Regions from separate parts of the Homo sapiens genome. Here region 1 is linked to region 2. The links are contacts of gene promoters, found by promoter capture Hi-C in blood cells and fetal thymus (Javierre and others, 2016). All regions are on one chromosome and are shown on one strand. The core of a region is centred on a gene start or on the middle of the fragment in contact, and the rest is flanking DNA. Distances in the headings are between cores, read along the strand shown. Region 1 holds the start of ACVR2A (activin A receptor type 2A). Region 2 holds the start of NMI (N-myc and STAT interactor).

Region 1 (4,679 bases), core at 40-2,539, 3.4 Mb before region 2:
GTGATAAATGGCGTGAATATCCTGAGCGGGTGGACAGCCCTTCCTCCGTGAGTTTTTTCTTTTTCTTTTCTAGTCACCAAGACAGCACGCGTGTGCAGAAGCTGCAGCGGTGGGACGCAGTGCTAAGTCTGGGGGCGCACACACCAGCTCGCGCGTCGCGAGCTCGCCTGGGCAGCTCGGCGGGCGCGGCGAAACAGCTCCCACGTCCGCCTTCCACCGACTCCTCGGTATCAGAGCGGACGAGGCGTCCCCCCAGAGGAAAGACTGGGCGCCGCAGACGCCCCTTGGAGAAGTCCCTGGCCACTCGCCCCACCTCGGGGTCCTCTTCCTCTTGGGCTTCTCCTGACCCTTTGGGTGGGCGCTCCAGACAGGCCCGTCGGACGCGATTTGGAAACGGGTCGTGCCCGGCCTAGCCCGCATCTACTCGCCCGGCCACAGCCCAGCCACAGCTTAGGGACTTTGAGGCGCCCGCGCCCCTTTGTCGCGGTATCTCTAGCCCAAGCAGGCCGGACGCCGAGGCCTCGCGGTATCGAGCCTCCGTCCGCCCCGCCTCCTCGCCCTCCACTCCGCCCCGCCCTCGCTCTCTCACCCCTCCCCCGCTCCCGCCTCGCTTCCCCGACAATCTCCTCGCGCTCCCGGCCCGGCACGCGCGCTGCGCCCGGCCGCCGCTGCCGCCGCCGCCGCCGCCGCCGCTGCCGCCGAGCGTTCCTCCGCTGCGCCTGGCTTCCAGCTTCGGGCCGGAACCGGAAGTTTGGGGGGCGGAGCCCGGCGGAGGCCAGGAGACCGAAAACGCGGCCGAGCCCGGAGCCCGGAGCTGGAGCCAGAGCCTGGACCAGAACTTGGCCGCCGCCTGCACCGCCGCCGCCGCTGCCGCCCGCCGCCCCTTCCCCGCGCCGCAGCCGCCTCGCCGCCACCGCCGCGAGCTCGGCCGCCAGTGGTCCTCGGACTTTAGGTGTCTGGGTTGAAGGTCGGTCCGGACATCGGACCCAGTCAGTTCCCAGACTGTCCGGGCGGCAGCGGACGCCGCTGCCGCCGCCGCCTCTTCGTCGCCTCAGCCTGGCGTTTTGTTCCGAGAGACGGGAGAGGCGAGCGGAGCTGACAGTGATTTTGACAGTGATTTAAACCCGCTTTTGTTGTTGTTGGCTTTTCGTTGTTTGGTTTTGTGTGTTGTGCGTGTGTGTGGCGGTTTTTCCCCCGTGGTGCATTTTATTTTTTATCGTTGTGCTCTTTTTTTTCTTTTTTTTTTTTAACCCAGTGAGCGTTTTTTTTTTTTTTTTTTTTTTTTTTTGGTCTGGGCTTCCGAATATGTTTTATGACGGTTGATTTTACACCAGGAGGTTTGTCTCCGAGGAAGACCCAGGGAACTGGATATCTAGCGAGAACTTCCTCCGGATTCCCCGGCGCCTCGGGAAAATGGGAGCTGCTGCAAAGTTGGCGTTTGCCGTCTTTCTTATCTCCTGTTCTTCAGGTAGGTGCAGGGAGCGCGGCGCGGTGGGGCTGCTCCTGCGGCCGCGGCGGCCGCTGCTGGGGGCCGCGGCTGGTGTTGAGTCGGAGAGTCCAGTGGAGCCTGGGGAGGTTGCCCACTCCCTGCGCCCCTCGGCTGCCACCGCCCCCCCCCCCCGCCCCCAGGTCTGATTGTGATCTGGAAACCTCCATGCATTTTTCTCTTTTTGAGTTGGGTCGGCGAGCTGATAAGAGTGAGTGCTGTGTTGTTGTGGAAGTGAGAAAGTCATGTTTTGTGGCCATAACACTGGATGACAGCGCTGGTTGGGTTGCAATTAAGCCGCAAATACCACAAGTGACAATTTATGCAAAGGTTGAGATCTGAAAGGAGTATTTAGTGTGGGCTCCTCCAAAACAAGGGTTGCTTTTTGTCATCGTTTAATTAGTGCTTCACCGGTGAATATCACGACATAGATCAAGCCAGTTGCTGCTTAATTTTGGCTGTGGGAAACAATACATCCTATCAGCAATTTAATCTGGGTCTCCCCTCACGTTTTCTTCAACTTCAGCGTCCAGCAGTGTTAAAAATAGTTGTAGTTGTTGTTGGAGTATTAACTATAACCCAGTGCAGAAGAGGTATGCCGCTTGGTATTGGTAATGTGCTGGCGTTCAACCACCATTTGTGTGCTCTTTTGGGGCATAGATTTTGCTTACCTACGGAATACTTATTTTAAACGCTTTGTATTGAAGCATTGTTTTCGGTTTAGAACAACCCATGTGAAATTGTTTTTGTTAAATATAGTACACTCATAAAATAGGTTTTAGCTCAAGGTTGGGGGAATAAACGGGCCATTTTATATTGGAAATTTTGATTTTGTGAGGACGTTCTATGGTTGCAACCAGTGGTTGGAAAAACTATCTAGTCTTTTGTATTTGAAATTCTATAAATAAATACAGCATCTAGCTGAAAGGTGTGCAGATGTACATAACAGGAGAGTTAGTTCAATAGATGAAACATTTTAAATAAGTCTCATTGGATCTATTTATTGTAAAATTTAATATTCAGTTACAAGCTTGTGGCATAGAATTACGGGGGACTCTTGGAAACGGGGGCGAATTGACAGGTTTCATGGCCATGTCTTTATCTCGTTTGCCACAGGAAAATTAAAGGGTGGTAGTCTTCTTTGTGTACCTCTGTGGGGTGTGTGTGTGTGTGTTTGTGTGTTTGTGTCCGTCTTCCCCACCCCCCTTTAAATATAATCTTTTGTAATGTATAGAATTTTGCTGAATGGTACATTTCCTTGTGGTTAATAAATGGATAAAGTCTAGTCTTATGTCTGTAGTGGTATTGATCAGTTCCGGGTGGGCTGAATGTGTTGTGAAATGGCGATCATTGCCAGAGATTAACCAAAAGAATCATGTCTGTTTAAATGGAAGAAGGAACATGCTTAAGGCAGGCTGACAGTTCTTTTTGTGCACGGTTTGGGAAGGAAGCTAAACAATGGTGTGTCTGAAATGAATGAAGGCCTTGATAACATTAAACCTCTTGCTTTTGTGACATGACTTAACCATGTAGTTTTTATCTTTCCAGTAGTACTCTTTTTTCCTCTGCTTCTATATGTTGTGGCTGGTGAACTCCTCTTGTTCAAATCCCTTGTTCTGATCTCTTGCCCTTGAGGAGGAGGGGCATCATGGCCACTGACCAAGGAATTGTGGACATTATTCCCTCTCAAACCCACCTGAGTCACACTAATTGATGAAGGAGGTTATTCTTGAGCAGTCTCAAGGTATTACTTCTTGAAAAGCAGGCTGTCGCTACAGATCTTACAGCTTCTTCTGCTTGGTTTGGTAGTAAAAATAATTGAGCATTAGTTTCTTGTGGGATTATTTTCATTGGGCCAGGATTATTTTCAGTGGGCCAGGAGGTTAATAGCTATAATTTTGAAATAAAGTGATTTTGTTGCTGTAGGGCATATAGATATTCCACTTATATTAAACTAATATTATGTTGTTGCATAGGCTTTTTAAGATGAACATTCCCAGTTGAACTAAAATATGTGATTCTGTTGAAGATAATTGAAATAATCATAAAGACCTTAATCCATATTTATACATGAACAATTTGAGTACTTAAAATGTCTGATTTTTAAAAGCCTTTTGTTATGGATCAGATGCACTCTAAAAAAGGATTATTATGTTTCTCCAACTAATTGATTTTTCTACAAAATGTGTGATCTGACATGTTGGAAGCATGAGGTGACTATTTTTATGAGAATTTTAAAAATTCTCAGGTTGTCAGTTTTTCATTTCTAGATATTTGATTTTTTTTAAAAATCAAAATGGGAAACAATAGTAAGGAACAGTTTTGTTCCAGGTGTTTAGGAGGGATGTTTACTATTTCGTGGACTCTGATTTTTCAGTTTCCATCCCATGGTATGTATTCTGGAGACTGATTATGCAGACTATTCCTGTAGGATATGGCCAAGTGTATAATTTCCTCCTCTCTCTCATTCCAGGGGAAACATTTTAAATTTTGCCCCTATCCTGGAGTGCCTTCAGATTACCTTTGATTTTGAATTTTTTCATTCCTCTCATACTTTCTCAGATTCTGTTTCAAAACATAAATCTTAGTTTTCTTTTTATAGCATTGTGGTTTATTTGTGTCTTTCCCCACAGTTTGTTGAAGTATGAGAATGACTTTAATACTTGCTTTAGTACTTAGATTTATCCTATCTAGAGTTATGCAGCTATTGTGGTATTTGAGTTGCATAGAAGTAAGTTGAGAATTCCTTTGGATTTTGTGGGAGCTGGAGCAGTATGGTCAATGTATTTGATGAAAGAGGAAATGGAAATATGGTAATTATGTTTTCTTCAGTTCAGCTAGGCAGTACTGTGTATGTGTGAATGTATGTGTGGTTGGAGGGGGAGTTAGCATTACAGAGAATCTTTTGGGATTCTTTTGAACTTTGATTAACAAGTGATGGATGATAAATACTTTGTTTTCTAAAAGGCAGAATCTCTTATAAATGGTGTCTGTGGTCAAATTCAAATATAATACATTGAAACATGGAGACTAGAAACAAAATGAAACAAAATTCTCCCTCCATTCATTTTCTATTTTTTTTTCCTGTTTATGATCTAAGCCAACAGTTCTCAAGCTGGGGTGAGTCCCCCTCCCTACTTCCCCAGATCCCCATCCATGGGACATTTGGAGACATTTTTGGTTGTCACAACAG
Region 2 (4,754 bases), core at 1,789-4,288:
CCCTTCCCTGAGTTTTTAATTCTGAATTCATATCACAGAAAGAAGACTGAAGTCTGTCAACAAACCTGGGTTACAACCACTGTCTGTTCTGCAAGCCCAACAGGCTTTGTCCAAGGCCATTGTATGTTCTTCGAGTCCCTTGAATTCCTTTAAAAATCATTTACTAACCCCCTATAATCATCCACACTTCCACATCTCCCTTTCCCCTAAAAAGTAGGGAATATAACCATCTGTACCCCATTGTGCAGTATCATCACTATGTGATTTTTTTCCCCTGTGCACATTAATAAATTTGTATGCCATTTCTCCTTTTTAATCTGCCTTTGCCCTTCAGAGAGCAAAGAGGAAGTTTTCCCTTGACCCCTACACTATCCAAGACACTATCAGGACAACTGGTGAAATTCACATTGGATCTGATTATTAAATTGTAGTAACGTAGCACTCCACATTCCTGATTTTGATGACTGTATTGTGGTTATGTCGGAGCACATCTTTTTTGTAGGAAATATATACTCAAGTATATAATGAAAGATGATAGGTCACCAGATTGGAAATTTATTCTTAAATAATTTAGGAAAAGGAAAAGTTGTTTTACTGTACTTGCAACTTTTCTGTAAGTTTGAGATGCCTTGAGACGATATATATATATAAGTATATATATATTTAAACCACATCTCTCTCTCTCTCTCTCACACACATACACACACACACACACACACGCATACATATATACATATATATCGCTATTGTATCAACAACTGCAAAATCTTCTTAATGGTCAGCCATGGTCTGATACATTCTAACTCCAACTCACTTTCCCGTCCTATTTAGTCAATTCCTCAACCCAGTTCCCTAACCACACTGAACACTTGGATAGTTCCTTTTCTTTCCTCTGTCCCTCAAACTGTCACATCCTTCCTCCTCTCCCAAACTTAATCTCCATCTAATGAAATCTTACTGTTCTTCAAGGTCCATTCCAAATTTTCCCCAAGCTCCCGAAGCCTTTTCTGATTCCCCCAAAGGATGTTACTCCCCCTCCTTTATCTCCTTTGCGGCGCTTTAATTACGTGTGTACCTATGTCATTTTCCGTGACACATCAGTAAACATGTTGAGGGCTGGGACCATGTCTACTCCTCCCTGCAGACATTCAGAGCACTTTCTCAGTATAAGCTTACACACTGAAAACACTCCATTTAGAGAATTATGTGGTATCTTGACTTAAGTATTTGTTGTACTCAGGACATCACATGTATATGAAGTCCTCTTATTACATTTCAGAAGACAGAAACTGCAATGTTATTTAATTGCTTTTTATTTTTATTATTGTGACAATGCCAATATTCCAAGAGCCTGTAATAAAGGCTCTCAGCATAAATGGTCTACTATCTAACACCACCAGAACCCTTTTGGCATCTTTTGCATCTGGATACTTTTGCTCTATGCATGAGTGGGATGTATGGTCATTCCTTTTATGCAATCATGTAGTAGGCAAAACAATGGCTCCCTCAAAGATGTCCACATCTTAATCCCAAGAATCTGTGATTATGTTAGTTTATATTGCAAAGGAGAATTAAGGCTGCAGATTGAATTAAGGTTGCTAATCAGCTTGCTTTTAAATATGGAGAGCATCCTGGATTATCTGTGGGAGCCCAGTGTAATCATGAGGCTACTTAAAAGTGAAAGCGGAAGACAGAAGAAGAGTCAAGAGTGAAATGTGACCCCGGAAGAACTTTCAGAGGCGCAATGTTGCTGGCCCTGAAGATGGAGGAAGGGCTGCTGAGCCAAATAAGGTAGGTGGCCTCCGGAAGATGGAAAGAGGATTCACCCCAAGAGCTTCCAGAAAGGAAGGCAACCCTGCCAACACTTTGATTTTAACCCAGTGAGACCTCAGTAGGACTGCTACAGAATCCTAAGATAGTAAATTGTGTATGTGAGTGTGTGTGTGTGTGTGTGTGTGCGCGCGCGCGCGCGTTCCTATGTGTTTAAGCCACTAAAGCCATGTAATTTGTTATGGCAGCGAATTAAAAAAACTGATACAAATCAACATCACCGTATTTCCGTAATACAATCATATAACTGCGGTGCCAGGCCGTGTAGAATCGAATCTTCCTATATGCATGCGTGGCAGCAAAAAGAAAGGCAATAGAACGTCTGCCTGTTGTACAGACTGGAAACACAGTATTCTCCTTCGGATGTCTCCTTCAAGAAAAACCTTGCCTATTCTGACACGCCAGCCATGACTGCACAACACTGCCCCTACCAAGAATCGTTTTCTTAAGAAATCCGTTTTCCTAAGGACTATCTCCAGAGACACTCGGAGAAAACAGCGAGGGCCGGGCGCGGTGGCTCACGCCTGTAATCCCAGCACTTTGGGAGGCCGAGGCGTGCGGATCACGAGGTCAGGAGATCGTATCCATCCTGGTTAACACGGTGAAACCCCGTCTCTACTAAAAATACAAAAAAAAAAATTAGCCAGGCGTGGTGGCGGGCGCCTGTAGTCCCAGCTACTCTACTCGGGAGGCTGAGGCTGGAGAATGGCGTGAACCCGGGAGGCGGAGCTTGCAGTGAGCCGAGATCGCGCCACTGCACTCCAGCCTGAGCGACAGAGCGAGACTCCGTCTCAAAAAAAAAAAAAAAAAAAAAAAAGAGAGAAAACAGCGAGGAAACACAAATAACTTTATGTTTCAATTTCCTCAATGAAGCAAAGCAAACAAGTGACAAGGCTCGAAGCCCTGACGGCCCAGAGACTGCACAGCGGGCCCAGGAGCAGGTGCGCCCCCTCGAAGGCGGCGTGGCCTCCGCGACTCGGCTGCGGGCAGCTCCCGGGGAGCAGGGTCTCAACTCCGGCGCTGTCCCACTTCCGTCGGCGCTGAGGGCTCCCACCTCCCTTTCCACCCCCGGCTCTCCAGCCCGGGACTGCCAGCGGCGGGAGTGGCAGCCGGGGAAGGGACTCCCCACTCACCCGCGTCCGCCCGCCGAGCGCAGCTCCCCAAGGCCCAGCGCGCCTGCCCTTCCCGGAAAACAGCAGCGCCTGAAACGCCGGAACCCCGGGAGGCACTGGGAGGGGAAGGCCCGGGTTCTCGAAACTGTCGCTGCCTCCTGCAGAAGCGCCGCGGGAGAGCTGCGGGGTCTTCCTGAGGAGGTGGCCCTCGCAGGAACAGCTGGGTTCCCCGCGAAAAGAAAAAGACAGTGAAAAAGAAAACTGCTTTAACGGCGATTTTTCTTTAGCATTTAACCAATGCTCAAATACTAAACATGGTTGTCTCCAATGATTAGTCACTAACAGAAAAAAAAACTAATTTCACTTTCGATTTTTAAAAAGGGGTGGTTTTGCGGAGGAAAGCAGAAGTATACCTGAAGTTTCCGTACACACTAATTTTAGGGAACGCTTTCTAAAACCAGTTTTTTGCATGTATTTTATAAGGTATGTTGGAAAAGTGGATAGAAACCAAATAAAGTCAAAGCAGGAATCGCTCTTCATCAGATTGTAACTCTTTTGTAATTTCTTAGTCATTGTAACACTAGTTGACAAATGTTTACAGTCAGCACAAGATCGGCGTTTCTGTGTCTTTTGTAACATCCCCCGGGGCCATGAAGTTGGGAAAGCTGTGGTGTTCCTGTTGGTTTCTGTGACCCATGTCCCTTGAAAGTTTTCTTATAATCTCTTGTTTTGTTGTGGAGCTTGTAAATAAATACTTCACTAGGTGTGAACTTTTCCTTTGAAAATTCAAACATCTGGTTTATTTCAAGAACTGCAGTGTCTCTTAATCCCACACAAAGAACCACCCCACAGCTGCCCCGGCTCATAAATACAGATGTGGGAAGAAAATGAGTCAAAATTATTTCAAGGCATAAATTATAGGTTATCATGCTACCTAGTCACATATAATAACTGATACAGTGGTCTAAAATAGTTTAACAAAAGTAAAATTTCTTTGTATCAAAAAGGTTGATGGGAACCAGTTTAAAGTGGTGACATTTCTCTTTTTTTTTTTTTTTTTTGAGATGAGTCTTGCTCTGTTGCCCAGTCTCCAACTCCTGAGCTCAAGCAGTCCTTCCACCTCCACTCCCAAGTAGCTGGGATTACAGGAATTCACGACCGCACCCAGATTTTTTGTACTTTTAATTTGGGTGCTGGGGGCAGGTATCTAACTGTTTCCCAGGCTGATCTTGAGCTCTGGCCCAAGTGATCCCACCACCTCAGCCTCCTGTAAAATGGCATTTCTAAGTAAAAAAAACGACTTCTTTGTGCTTATCAGACCAGTTAGAAAATACAAAAACTCCTTCTGCTGCAACTTGAGAAAGAATTACTTTAGTTTTACCTTGAAATTTTAGAGGGAATATGAACTCTCGAGGTTATTTAGTTGAACCTCATTTCTTCTTATTTTTATTTTTTACAAGAAGATACTAAAGGACAGGACCATGGCCAGAACAGGACTAACTTAATATATTGACTCAGATTCTGTTTAAAAGGCAAATGATACAGGTGGAGGGGAAGTCTTTTTGGACACCTACATTCTAAAGCTGAGACATGTACTAACAGTCTGAATTTAACTCAGCTTCAAATCTGGTATTCTGCAAAGTGTTAGAGATCTGAAGATGAAGAGTTGGCTCCTGGACATACTATTAATAATTGTAATTGCTAACATCTACTAAGAACTCCTGGACATTTTATAAACCTTTTTGTTTTGCCAACAACAATATTAGATATAGGTATTATTCCCATTTCTTTTCACCTGTCTGAAGCAGGCAG

The links. The method cuts DNA at HindIII sites, captures the fragments that hold promoters and counts their contacts. A CHiCAGO score of 5 or more calls a contact.
Region 1: a contact is called between the fragment with the promoter of ACVR2A here and the fragment with the promoter of NMI in region 2, in 9 of 17 cell types (total B cells, total CD8 T cells, non-activated CD4 T cells and 6 more). The highest score is 14.5, in total B cells.

Annotation. Positions count from the first base shown.
Region 1 is chr2:147,843,740-147,848,418 of GRCh38, forward strand. ACVR2A (activin A receptor type 2A) reads left to right here and starts at 1,290. Exons shown (of 11, transcript NM_001616.5): 1 at 1,290-1,468. The coding sequence starts at 1,414. RefSeq lists an enhancer at 1-390 and silencers at 517-706, 787-896, 1,652-1,731. The HindIII fragment of the contact is 3,923 bases long and covers 1-2,514 here.
Region 2 is chr2:151,286,630-151,291,383 of GRCh38, forward strand. It overlaps NMI (N-myc and STAT interactor), which reads right to left and starts at 3,039. Exons shown (of 8, transcript NM_004688.3): 1 at 2,964-3,039. RefSeq lists enhancers at 1,588-1,757, 2,558-2,607, 2,628-2,677, 3,068-3,147, 3,208-3,627 and a silencer at 2,808-3,007. The HindIII fragment of the contact is 4,870 bases long and covers 1,170-4,754 here.